2 separate regions of the Homo sapiens genome follow, and region 2 is linked to region 1. Evidence: promoter capture Hi-C in human tissues and cell types (Jung and others, 2019). All regions are on one chromosome and are shown on one strand. Each heading gives the region's core, a stretch centred on a gene start or on the middle of the fragment in contact. The rest is flanking DNA. Distances are from core to core; before and after follow the strand shown. Region 1 holds the start of RASA1 (RAS p21 protein activator 1). Region 2 overlaps MEF2C (myocyte enhancer factor 2C).

Region 1 (7,014 bases), core at 4,515-7,014:
ATTTACAATGGGGTTTTGTCAGGACGTAACTCCATCTAAGTCAAGAAGCATCTGTACTTAACAGAAATAAGTTCTTCAATCCAGGGGTTCTGAAATCCTGGTACAATAGCTACTGTCAGTGTCAAGTCCACACCCCCTTGGAGTCACCTGTTCTGTGCATGCCAATGGTTTCTTACTGCATGCACCAGTGGCTCTCTACCTGAGGGCTTTCTCTAGCCATGAAGATGTTCAAATTGCACACAAGGCAGTCTGGAAGTGTTGCAGAGGAGATGCTTCCAGGAGCAGCCCTCAACCAATGCCAAATGAGAACTGATGGATAAAACACATTTTCTTTGACCCTTAGGCGTAACAACTCTCAGGTGGATTCTGTGCTGTGTCCCAGAGTTTCACATGAATGGAGTGCCCTACTTATCCACAGCAGCAACCTGCTCATTTTAGCATTCCCTGTATTGGCCCCCTCCCCTTTCTTGCTCTTGAACTGAAGTATTCTGGAATCACTTCCTAAGTAAAAAATTTAACACTCAAGTACTAGTCTCAAAGTCTGCTTCTGGGGAAATCCAAACTAAGATATTTTGTCAAACTAATGCTATTTGTTTTTCTTTTTTGTTGTTGTTGTTTTGTTGTTGTTGTTTTTGAGACAGAGTCTTGCTGTCACCCAGGCTGGTGTGCAGTGGCACAATCACAGCTCACTGCACCCTCAACCTCTGGAGCTCAAGCTATCTGCCCACCTAAGCCTCCCAATTAGCTGGGACTACAGGCATGTACCACCACACCTGGCTAATTTTTTCTATTTCTCATAGAGACAGGGTCTCACTATGTTGCCCATGCTGGTCTGGAACTCCAGGGCTCAAGTGATCCTCCTGCCTTGGCCTCCCAAAGTACTGGGATTATAGTCTTGAGCCACCATGCCTGGCCTTCAATGCCAATTTTTAATGCATCCATGGAAAAAGATAAAATAAGAACATAATATATGATGAATATTTCATGAAGCTAAATTTATGTAATTCTAAGGACTTTTCCTTTTTTTTCTAAAATTATTTCCATCCTTTCTCTTTCCTCCTTCCCTCTTTCTCCCTGCTTTGAAATGTCCTTTCCTTTTATGAAATAAAGCAGCAGGAAATGGCAGTTTTGTTGTAATAACAAAATACTTCTCTCTTCACAACATTGGCAAACTCATAATTGGCAATTCTGTAGTCTCTCAATTTTTGTGGAAACTTTAGTAGTCTATGAAACCCAGAAGTCTGAACATCACTGATACATACCATTATATTTACATGTCATATTTCATTGCTTTTTAAAAACTATTCGATAAACAGTGAATAGGAAGTTGAAAAATAAGAGTTCTAGTAAGATAACAAGTGAAGTTGAAAAGTCTTCAAAAGAGCACGCGGATTGAGAAATAATTATAGTTAGAAATAGAAAGCTGTTTTTAGTTGAGTAAAGTTACACTACTTACAGTGCATTTGCAGTAGTTAAAGCTCTCACCTTATTTATGATAATTATCTGACTCAAGGCTCCACTTAGCCCTTTCATTGTATAGTTACTTTAAAGAGCGGTGTGTATTGCCATACTAACTGAATTTGCAAGTGAAAGCATTCCTGGAAGACTCTCAGGTAGACCAAAGAATGTAACTTGAATTAGAGACTGCAGGATTCTTGAGGTGAAAAGACCAAAGCTTAGTTGGATTTCATGACTGTGCTTCAGGTGCTATTTAAATTGTTGCTGGCATATTCAAAAAATATTATCTGTGAAAAATGGGAGTGTAATAATGAGGGAAATATGGCAAAGTCCTACCCACCCGACTCTCCCACATTCTTTGCCTTGAAACCATTCCGTTCCCTTTTCTCCTTTACTTCTACCATGAGGTACTATCATATATAGGAGCCAGGCAAAGAAAGGAAAATACATAAATGTGCCTGGTCAGAGTAAAATAATAGGTAAAGAAAAAGAGACTAGAAATCATGAAGGAGGAAAGGTTCTGACAAAAAATAATGAAGTATCTGCAATATAAAGACAAAATAGGAATAAAGTAAAAAAAAAAAATATATTTTTCTATTATTTTATATTTTAAGAGATATTTAGATCTAACTGTTCTAATCTTCTTTACTCATATATTGGTTTGAATGTTTTGAGAGAGCTCTGGATAATTTACCTTGTAATTTATTTTACAGCCTCAGAGATCATCACACAGTTCTTCAATTTCTCTATGGTATTTATAATTTTCATAAATCTTAGTTATTATACCACATATTGTAATCTCTGCAGAGTTATTTGCCTTTTCATCAAAGTATTTCCTTTAACCTGTATCTCCTCGATGTTATTTTCTCATAAGATCTTTGTAATAAAAAAATTTGTGCTCTGGAGGGTTTTAAGATAAAGTCAATAAATGCAGTGGGGACATTAGGGTTAGAAGTAAAGGCTTTCTTTCAAAATTATTGGGTCAATGAAACCTTTTGATACTATTTAGGTAAATTTGGAAGGCTATTTGTGTAACTCAATATGTACTAGGGCATGGAACACAATTTGGCATTCTTCAAACACAGCAGTAAGCTCTTTATTACTTCTTGGTTAGTCCTCCCATCAGAAACTATTCTTACCTATGCTCTAAGGTCCTCTAAAATTACAGTTATGTTACTGAGTTAGAATTACCTTTCCACATACTCAAGATATCAAAACTATAAAATATTTTGGAACGTAGTACATTCATATTTCTTTTTCTTTTTTTTTTTTTTGAGACAGAGTCTTGCTCTGTCACCCAGGCTGGAGTGTTAGCCAGGATTGTCTCGATCTCCTGACCTTGTGATCTGCCCGCCTCGGCCTTCCAAAGTGCTAGGATTACAGGCGTGAGCCACCGCACCCGGCCACATTCATATTTCAGTTGCCAATGAAACCAGAATGAGCCAACTTCATTTCTTAAATTTTCAGTTTCTTTTCATACACAAGTTTTTGTCCAGCACTTTTTATTATTTAGTCTTCATTAAATACTATGTTTCAAGATCCAGAGTAACTTTTCTAAAATCACAGATATAATAGCTTATTTTACTAAAGGTAAAATATATTTTGAATTTTCTTTCTTTTGTGTACTATTCTGTTTTTCAATACCTCCCTGTTTAATATCTGTGAATTTAATTAAGATAGTTTACTTCCCTTTGTTAACTGGGCAGAAAGTTAAGGTGGGTAGAAAAGAAAGGCAATGGACAAAAATTAAGTAGAAACATTAAATCCTTTTGGAAAAAATGAAAATAAAGATAGACAACGTATTTGAGATTCAGAAAGTACACAAGCAATAGTAAAGATTAGAGCCTAGATCTATCCAATAATAGGAATATATTAAATATCTGAAAATACCTCATAAAAATATGTGGCAATTTCTTTGGAGGAAAAGAACAGGGCTAACTCTAAGGCTAAACAAAAACTAGGTAAGATATTGGTATAAGGCTGATTTACAAATAGACATAGTAGTTATTTCCTACTGGTTAAGAAATTGATTTCCAAAGATGGGAGCTGATCAAATTTGGTATTTGTTAAAAGGATGAAGATCTGTTCAAAGTAGCATACTGAGGTTGCCTAGGACTGGGCTAGGCAGTAGAATAGACCACAGGTTGTATTTGCAGTACAGTTTTGTAGGTACATACACCTAAAAGTCTAGAAAACATTTAATTGAGCATTTGATAGGTGTTAGACTGCATTAAATATTGACCTTTACAAGTGCTAAAGAATTGTCAAAAAGGAGGAGGTAATTCTGCAGTAAGAGTAGTGAGCCTCACCTGGACTCCCAGGCAACATACAGAGGGTGTGTGAACATTTAGAAATCAGTGATAACCAAGAGCCGGTGATAACCTGCCAGTTCAATGTCCTGCATTCAAGGGCTGACAGTGGTGACTGGGACAGGAATGTTGGAGGATTGGGATGCTAACACACTGGAGGTTTTCAAGCACAGGCTATATTAAGATTTGTTGGGATTGTTGCACTTGGTGTTCACACAGCAGACAGTAAGTAGAGTAGGTATTTTGATAGTCTTGTCTAACTGAGGGTCTAAGTTTAAAAGAAAACTGTTCTCAGGGAGGCCACCATAAGTAGTACTTCATTATTAAGTATTATGGAACTACTTCATTCTCATTTCTAGAACAGCACAGAGCTTGGCAACTCAAAACCCGCCTATTTTACCTACCCACCTAATGAATGACATTTATTATTTCTTTCAGAACCGTTTTTAGGTATTGCATACCTCCTTCTTGATTAGTATACTATACATTAATATAGTGGTTCTCAAACTTAAGTGTGCAAACAATCACTTGGAGGGTTTGTTAAAATGGATCGCTGCATATTTTCTGATTCAGAAGGTCTGAGGTGGCATTTCTGAATTCCTAGGATGTTGCGGCCTGAATTCACTTTGAGAACTCTAGCTCCTGTGACTGGTCCATCTTCCTTCTCCCAGGTAGCACACTGCTAAGAGATATGCGTAATGGAGGCCCCAGGACTACTCCTAATCAAGTTGGATTGTTGTCATTGACTAGGTAAATAGGCCTGTGCAAACTTACAAAGGCAATGCATTGCCTGTATCTTGTCACGTCTTTTAGTGGTCTTTTCTCTTTTTCCTGGGTTTCTATCACAGCCACTTGCCATCCTGAGTGTTAGTTTGATCATCCTTAGCACAGAAAATATTGATCTCAAAGATCAATATCCAATGGTATTTAATGTGGGATCACTCCTGGGAGAATTTAACAATATTGTTAATTTCAAACCATGGGAAGCTCCCTCTACATGAATGCATAGTTTGTATACATTTTAGTGTAAAAGACAAAATAACACCCTTCTCCTTAATTGTATTAAAAATGAGTTTTCAGTTTATTGCTACTTTTGAAACGATATATAATTATAACTAGCATTCTGGGACATTCTTGACATTTGACTTGTTGAAGGTGCTTGCATTGTGGATCACGTCCTGCAGTCTTTTGCACACAAACCAGGACAAAAGTGCATTGATTAGTGTTTTCTGTGGCACCTCCTCCTCTTCATCAGTATCCAACAGACTTATAATGGCATAGGTAAGTATATGAGACAGTTGATAAAGAAAAACGTATGCAAATACTGGTAGAAATCTTACTTCATAACCACTATTTCTACTCAAATTCTTCACCCTTCTCATATGGTGCCCTTTATTTCGTTTTGGAGTTTCAGAATCTATTTTAACTGTGTGTGTGTGAGATAGTCATAGTGATTTATAGCATGCAACGAAAAAGAAAACATTAATAGTACTGCCCCGATCTTCAAAGCTACCTGACCCCTGCCCGGTTTCTGCGCTGCTGGTTAAGGCTGTTTTTTCCACTGGTCAGGAAGTACGGAACTAGTTTCTGGGCATTTTCCTTTCCCTTTCCCCCTCCTTCCTCTCCACCGCCTCCTGGTCCCCCTCTGGTCTCTCCGGCTTTAACAGCGCCAAGCACCCGCGTGCTCAGGTACCCTTCCCTCTTCTCCCGCCCATCAAACAAAGCCCCGGGAGACAGGCGCGCGCCGCCGGCCACGCCAACAGGAGATGCGGCCGCGCCGCCACACGCTTGGAACCGGAGGAGGACAGCAAGCGCGACCACGCACCGCGCGTCCCCGCCGCTTCCTTCCCTCTGGACTCTTCCTTTTCCTCCCGGCCCGGCCCCCCGCCCCCGCTCCGGGAACGCGCCTGCGCACAAGCTGCCCTCTCCCTTCTCCGCCCTTCCTTCCCTCCGTCCCTCCTCCCCTGCCCCGCCTTCCTTTCTCTCTCTCCCGTTTCACTCACTGAGAGCTCCAGGTAGTGAGCAGTTCAGTCGATTTCCTCGTTACCCCGCCCCCCTTTCTCTTGCCCCCCCACCCCTCTCATCTGCCTGGTGGAGGATGAAGCGGCTGCAGTGGCCCCAGCCTCAGCAGCGGCACCGGCGGTGGCTGCGGTGTGGGTGGCCGGAACTGGGGTGGTGAAGAAGCGGTGGTGGCGGCTGAAGGAGCGGTAGCAGCCTCAGCCTCTTTCCCTGTGCTTCCTTTCCTCTTTAGTGCAGCGAGGAAGTTTTCGCTTCTGTACATGTGTTTGTGTGCGTGAGTGTGGGTGTGTGCGGTGAGGTTTGGGTGGCGTTTGTGCAGGCGTTGGGTTTTTTGCCCACTTGGCTTCCCGTAACCCAGGCAGCTGGGGAGCCTGGGCTGTGGCCCTAGGAGGGGGCGCGGCGGCGGGCTCTCTCCTTTTGTTGTTGTTTCCTCAGCCTGGGGAGCTGAAGGGGAGACGCGTCTGGGTGGGGCTGCTCGGAGCCCGGGCCTGGTGGCCCCTGGGGCTCCCGGGCGGGCAGGGTAGGGCAGAGTAGAGCGGGCTTCAACATGATGGCGGCCGAGGCCGGCAGTGAGGAGGGCGGCCCGGTAACAGCCGGAGCTGGAGGAGGCGGCGCGGCAGCGGGCTCCAGTGCCTATCCCGCAGTGTGTCGGGTGAAGATACCCGCGGCCCTGCCTGTGGCAGCCGCCCCCTATCCTGGGCTGGTGGAGACCGGAGTGGCTGGAACTCTGGGTGGCGGAGCCGCTTTGGGGTCAGAGTTCCTAGGAGCCGGGTCTGTGGCAGGGGCACTGGGGGGAGCTGGACTGACAGGGGGAGGTACTGCTGCTGGCGTAGCTGGTGCTGCTGCTGGCGTGGCCGGTGCTGCTGTTGCTGGACCTAGTGGAGACATGGCTCTCACCAAACTGCCCACTTCGTTGCTTGCTGAGACTCTCGGGCCAGGCGGCGGTTTTCCCCCTCTGCCCCCTCCCCCTTACCTGCCCCCTTTGGGGGCGGGCCTCGGGACAGTGGACGAAGGTGACTCTCTGGATGGACCAGAATACGAGGAGGAAGAGGTGGCCATACCGTTGACCGCTCCTCCAACTAACCAGTAAGTTAAGACTGCTGTTCAGGAATTTGGGAAGCTGGCTCCAGAAAAGAAGTGGAAATGAAGGGGTAAATCATACTTTGTCCTTTTCATCTGTGGTTTGTTAGGAAAAGTTTTTGAAGTTTCAGGTTTCTTGGGTAGGAAT
Region 2 (7,014 bases), core at 4,515-7,014, 1.5 Mb after region 1:
TGCAGGTTTGTGAGCATTCTTGGGATGTCAGGTGACCTGGTGTGTTCCTAACATTTACCAATGGCCACCCATTACCGGGTCTGTCCAAGCATCTATACATTTTTCTATATGTTGCATAACAGCTGCTCTCTCTTTCAGTAAAGATCTGCCGCTTTTGGCAAATGTTTCCTTTTGTCTATTTACATGTAAATAACGTTGAACCTGCAACATGACACTATCTATTGTAACATACATTTTGCAAAGGAGCACAACAGTGAAAAGAAGTTAGCCTTAAAATCTATTTTGTACAAGTGTTCTGTTGTACAACTCAAGTGCTAAGCTTATCTCAGCATTTCTGTTTATCTTTATACTGTATCACTGAGGCAATTTAAAAGTACTTTTACAAAACAGAGTACCTGACTTTTTTTTTTTCCACACACGGCACATATAATGCATATCGACCCCCCTTCCCCATTAAGGTATAGCACACACACACACTGCAAGAAAAAAAAAAAAACTAGTAAGTAATAATCTGATCATGTTGCCCATCCTTCAGAAAGTCGCATGCGCTTGACTGAGGGACTTTCCCTTTCGTCCGGCGAAGGTCTGGTGAGTCCAATGGGGGAGTGGAATTCGTTCCGGTGATCCTCTCGGTCGCTCCCGTCGTACGAACTGCTACAGCTGCTCAAGCTGTCAACAGGAGATCTCCCCGCCTCGTGGCGCGTGTGTTGTGGGTATCTCGAAGGGGTGGTGGTACGGTCTCTAGGAGGAGAAACAGGTTCTGACTTGATGTTGAGGCTTTGAGTAGAAGGCAGGGAGAGATTTGAACTCTGAGATAAATGAGTGCTAGTGCAAGCTCTGTAGGAGGAAAGGAAACCCAGTTACAGATGAAGGAGGCCTGGAGGCCCCAGGAACTCACAATTAAATCAAACATCAGCTTAAAGACTCGCATAGACACCAGAGCATGCCCAGAGTGAAGAAAACGTGCTTGGAAGCACATAAGGGCATCGCCTTCTCAGGGCGATTTAGGATGCCTTTGTTGATTTGCCCGGTAGTAATTACAGCATTTAACTGGTCCAGGCCTCATGAATTATATCTCTAGTCTCCGAGAGGCTCCCTAAACATATAGGTTACCATTTCAGAAAGGTTTAAGACACAATGGAAAAAGCATTTTCTGTGTTCATGGACTCTATCCCTAGACTAGTTCTAAAAATTAAATTTCTAAGCATTTAGATACAGTGTTTAGCTCTGGAATTAGACTTCCTTGATTTACTAATGCTTGTGTTTGAATATTATTTTTAAAAGCTTATTATCAATATAAATATTTGCCTCCAATTAATAAGCACATACAGATGGAATCACATAGTCTTCAGAGAAAGTGAAGGGAGTTAAATTTTAAATGACTAGAACTCAAATGCTGCACAATAACTGTATCTGGTAAAAAGCTTTGGAGGTGGAAAAAATGGAAAGGGGGAGGGAAATTGAAAATTATCTGCAGAAAGTTTAAACGTTGGTTTTCAAACACTTAAGACTTTCTACTCCATTAAAACTGATAATTTGACTTTCTTCATCCTTTTGCAGTTACATGAGATGAAAATACTTTGTGTTCCACAATGACCTCAATTTTATTAATGTTAGTCACTCCCTGATGCGTGCGGTTCTTAGGCTACCACTCCTCTTATTTATCATTGGCATTAGTTGATGAATCTGGTGTTGCCTAAGGAAAGCTTGTTGCCAAGAAGGATGTAGTGTGATTTTACTGTGTTTATAATCCTTAATCCTCATATATTCCCAGAGAGAATAATTTTTCCTTTTTCCAAAATCTGGGAAAATTTAGAAACTTGGAATTCTAGAGGAAAAAAGTATTAAGCCCTTAAGTGTAGATTAGCAATCACAATGACTTTGATCAGGATAAACCATAGTGGCATTGCTCGCATCAATTTTAAGATGCTTTTACTCTTCTTACACTAATTACACTGACTTCCAGAGCTAGAGTCAGGATTACTTGACTATATTGTCAAAAGAGCATGGTACTCTCTTTTACTGAGGAAGAATCCAAGTGAAGAATTATCCATACAGACACACCCATTTTAAACAAAGGAAAGCAAGCCTACTTACTAATGTATGTAATTATGCTGCTTTCCAGTGGAGAGAATTAGTTGGCACTAACAATGTCATTATGACCACTGAGAGAAAAAGTATATATTTCAGAAAAAAAGTGAAGTAACTTGGGGCTGGCTTTTTGGGAGATGCAATACAAACTCAAGATGTATAGTGATATAAAATTAGTCAGAAACGAGTTTATCTTTGAGTGATGTTTTGTACAAAAGCACCACCTACTGGCAAAGAATTACTTTCCTTCTCCTATTAATAAATAGATGAGCTAATGTAGAGAATAATATAAAGGAGAATTATTTGTTTCCTTAATAAGCGTCTCTTTCTCTAGCTTTTATGATCTTATATAATCAAAGCAGTGTTAGCATTTATATCAAGAAACTACACTGACTGTATATAATTTTCAAACACCTGTTTATATTTGGAGCTATTTATTTGTAGCTTATTAATTTATAGTCTATCAGTTTACTAATTTTCCAAAAGTTTTAATTAAATAAGCCTTGTTAAAATGGGGAGAGGGAACACCTGTATTTCAAAAGGATTCATAATGGTAGACTATTTTATCTTGGTTCAAAGTTACTTAGTGATTCATTCTGATGTTTGAGGAAATCGTCTTTTGATTTCTGGAATAAAGAATTTTCCTGGCTCTAAGAAAGACCATTTCACTAAAATTTAATTAAATGCTTCTGCTATGAATCACACAACTATTTAATAATGAATATGAATTAGGAGTCTGAAAATAAAAAGTGATATGTCAATAAATACTTTTGCTTGCTCTTTGACATACAGATTATGTCTTCACAGGGAGGGTGACATAGAAAATTAGAAGAAAAAATTGGTGAGTTGGACAGTCTAAGCAGTTAATCTAGACAAGGTAAGGGAAAAATAATATAACCAAAATTCTGTTTCTTTAATACAGTTTTTGGAAGCTGCATTATTCACCTCTTTGCATCATCTTCCTATGTTAACTGGCCTGTATAGGTTTAGCTGTGTATCTTCCCCATGAAAGATGTAACAATTATTGGTTATCCCTTCCTACAAACAGACTAGCTTAAATTTATCTTTTGGTGGAATTTCATTTGACACTGAAAACATACATGAAGCATTTTGAGTAGTTCTGGGGACTAAATCCACAGTAGTAAAATGCAAGTGATATCTTAGATTCAGCTTCATTATACTGTGACATAGGATATAAAATAGAATGGCTAGTCTCTGTTAACAAAGAAGTATTTTCTTGAAAAGAAAAAAGTAGCATTAAAATAACTTAACTGCATATATGCTAGGTTCAGATATAAGCATGTTGGTCTACTTGAGAACAAAATATAGACACGAATAATTATAGACCCTGATAATTGTGAAATACTGCATATGTGTGGGTGGGTGATAAAGAGGTGGGTGGGGAGATAGAAGCCAGATATGCAAGTTACCCATATCAAGTCCTCTATGCAAATTTTCATCTATTACAGATGCTTTTGAATTGGGAAAACTCCTACCCTTTCCCATAATTGTTCAGAAATCAAACATGACTGGATAGTTTTATTCAAAATTTTTACTGCCTCCGCCTGGAAATTAGACTATCAAACTATATTTAACCTAACCTTTTATAAGTCATCTCTACTCAGAGTTATCTCTCTCAGTATGTACTGAACACCCACATCAACAAAGTTGACGTATGGAAATGCTTCCAGAAAACAGGCTGCCCTTTTTATAGGTGGTGGTTTAGAAAAACACTAAAACTTAGTGTTACACTAAATCAAATATTAGTATTCAAAGGACTTTCATTAACTCTTGATGGCAAGTTCCTCTGTCAGCCATCTCTCTCCCTATAGCAAATAAATTTGTGTTGCTTACTTAGCTTGGTTAGATAAAATCAGATACTAGGTTTTAAAAGTATAGCTTTGAAGACTTAAAGCTCCAAAGGACAAAATGAACTTTTTTTCCATGGACAAAATATGAAGAACTCTGTTTATGGTTTTGCAATTTTGAGAAAGAATTGTGGTAACCATCTTGGGCTGCTGGGAATATCTACTTTGGTGGAGCTGAAATATATTCCACTCTGCTATGAACATTGTCTCTAGCCAAAAGAATGTGAGCCCGCAACACAAATCTCTGCGACAACTTTGGCCTGGAAAATGTATCAATTCTTTTTAAATTGATTTACACTGTAAAGAATTAAGGATGCTCATGTGAATTACTTTACATAAGTATTGCAGCTTGGGATTTTTTAAAAAAACAGTTTAACATTTAATCGTGTGAATATGAGGTAGTCCATGTGAAGGAACCTCCTTTCAAAAAGCTACTCTGTGTGTGATTGTGAGAGGGAGAAAAGAGTGTGTGTGAAGCAGAGAGAGAGAAGGGCCAACAGTGGAAGGACTGGAAGGGTCATTCCATTGATTTGAGGGGTAAGGGAAGTGATTAAGTGCAATTAAAACTCACAGAGAAAACTAAGAGTCAAATTAAGCACAACGAAATTAAGTGTTGAAAGGAACCGGGAGCTGAACAAAATGCTTAACCTTTGGCTGTTGTAATTCAGTTCCTTTCTGTCTAAGGCTGTCCCTCCTTTCTCATTTTCTGAAACCTCTATTAGAGGCAGCAGAGAATTAGATTCTTCCTTGTAATAGAAAAGAGTTTTAAAATTGTAGTACAGCTAAAATATGTAAATAAATATGTGTTTATATGTAAAAATATAAATTATCAGGTACTATTGAAAACAAAAAAAAGCCACATTCAGAGAAAATAATATGGCTTTTGACATTGATAACTTTTAGGGAAATCTAGCCCTATAATGGATGAATTTTGTGAAAAAAATGGGAAATAAGCAGTTATGTTTATTTTTGACAAGAATCATGTTCAGTGGATTCCCTGCTAAGCCATAGCAGTTGATACTTTGTACAAAATATGTATACATGTACATATTTTTTAGTTGCCTGGATGGAATTATGTGCTTGGTGATAATTACCTGAAGAAGTTCCCACAGTTAATGTCTACTTGAATAGTTAACATTCCAGAGAAAATTTAAGTGTCCTAAAAAGATAAAACTCTGCGCTGATCAATATGTAATGTATCTTCAAAGTTAACTATCTTTCAAGAAAGCTGACCAACAGTATCACGTGAATTTATCTTACTATTTAAATGAAAGGTTAGATTTTCAATGACAGTGATTAGCGGGTAGGATGAACATAAGCAAACAGTGTACGGGTGAATATTTCATAATCAGATCACTAATATATGCTAAATCACTATCATGTGAAAGCTAGTGGGTGGGGGGAGAGAGGGCACCAGCAAACATAAGAGACACAAAGTTGTGGTATAAATCAGTGACTTTTATACTAATCAGTGTTTTATTCTCACTGTCTCCTTAGACATATGGATATATAACTAGTTAACTAATACAGCTAAGTGATTAACGATAACAAATGGCTAAGCAGAAAAGTAAAAGTGGGCTAGGCAGACAGAATATTTTTAAAATATAAAAGCTTGTTATCTTTAAATATTTTATATCCTCCTGGTATTTTCTTTTGAAGATTAATTGCAATTTTGGACTTATTAAATTTACAGTCAGGCTTTCAGTTAACGTTTTAAGCTTTTTTAAAAAAATGATTTGTTTTATATGAAATAGTGTGAATTGTGAATTCAGAGCTTTTTAAAGGTTTGAACGTTTCCATAGATAAATGACAAGAGTCATTTCTATGATAAAGACATATCTGAAAACTACCACAAGGGGGCAGAAAGATACATCCTCTGACTACATAAAACAAAAATTATTTTTATATCCAAATTTAGGTAATTAGTATTATATGTACTAGTTAGTATTATATACATATATTTCTTAAAATATCTATAAGTATACAACTATACTATGAGTACATTATAAATACATGAAGCCTGTGTATCAATTGACTAGTTGTTCCTATGTGTATTAGGTTAACATTAGCATAAACCATATGGTTTATGTGAAAAAAGAAAAATTCTCAAATATCTAAGCTTATACTATAAATGCCTTCTTATGTCCCAAATGAACTGTGTGAAAACTAAATAAAAATTATATCACTGATAGAAGTGGAAACAAATGTAGCCTAAAACAATAAGGAAAGAATTTACCTCATTATTACAGAGCTCGCTGTCCTCTTAAAAAACAGGTATATAAGATTTAAGCTACTTGAAAAGTATTGATCTGAAAATTACACTTGGATTTCAATAAAGTAGAGTTTTATACCCGTTAATGGGATATTGAAGCACATATTTAGAGACTGTCATTTGTTTTTCAAAATACATTCTAAAATTATATTATAAAAAATAATATTGCTTACCCCAACTGACTGAGGGCAGATGGTGGCATGTTATGTAGGTGTTGCTGTTGCCAGCCAGTTACTGAACCAAGGTGAAGAGCGCTGGCGGTGTTAAACCCAGACAGAGATGACAGGTCTGCACTACTCAGAGAGTACTCTAGATTAAAGAATAAAACAACAAGGGAAAATATTAAATTTAGAAATTATCAAATGGTAAATAGAATAAACATTTTCAATTTCCAAAATATTCTATTAGGATTATCGTTATTATAGATATTTTTAATTTTGAGGGGAGGGGAGATAAAGCATCAGCGATAATTCTAATTTAAAAGGAATATACTATAAACCAAAAATAAGTATTCCACGAATGCTCTGAAGTAGCATAGTCCGCAATTCTAGTTTATTAGAACTACAATCTAGTATAAAGGTATGTACATATTTGATGATGTAGAAATGTTAAACAATCCTGAGAAAGTGAGCTTTTTATTACATCAAAGAAACAGCTCAATTTTCTTGAAAGTGTGTTTCTATTTTGAACTCAGGTTGCATAAATAAAACTTTCAGTCAGTTAAGAAAGAAAAATGTGGATATTCACTTTGTCTTAGTGAAGAATGGGTAATGCTGCAGTGCT

Evidence for each region. The method cuts DNA at HindIII sites, captures the fragments that hold promoters and counts their contacts. A contact is called where the count stands out against the background at its distance.
Region 2: a fragment that was not itself captured here is called in contact with the fragment with the promoter of RASA1 in region 1 in 1 of the 25 tissues and cell types used here (hippocampus).

The regions. Positions count from the first base shown.
Region 1 is chr5:87,262,119-87,269,132 of GRCh38, forward strand. RASA1 (RAS p21 protein activator 1) reads left to right here and starts at 5,765. Exons shown (of 25, transcript NM_002890.3): 1 at 5,765-6,872. The coding sequence starts at 6,334. RefSeq lists enhancers at 5,494-5,788, 5,842-6,729, 6,487-6,536 and silencers at 5,537-5,786, 6,127-6,306. The HindIII fragment of the contact is 7,176 bases long and covers 745-7,014 here.
Region 2 is chr5:88,722,089-88,729,102 of GRCh38, forward strand. It overlaps MEF2C (myocyte enhancer factor 2C), which reads right to left. Exons shown (of 11, transcript NM_002397.5): 10 at 6,405-6,540; 11 at 1-837. The coding sequence ends at 516. MEF2C-AS2 (MEF2C antisense RNA 2) reads left to right here. Exons shown (of 4, transcript NR_146284.1): 4 at 536-743. Among named protein-coding and RNA genes, the nearest start is that of GSCAR, 28 kb to the left of the region's middle. The HindIII fragment of the contact is 4,253 bases long and covers 3,639-7,014 here.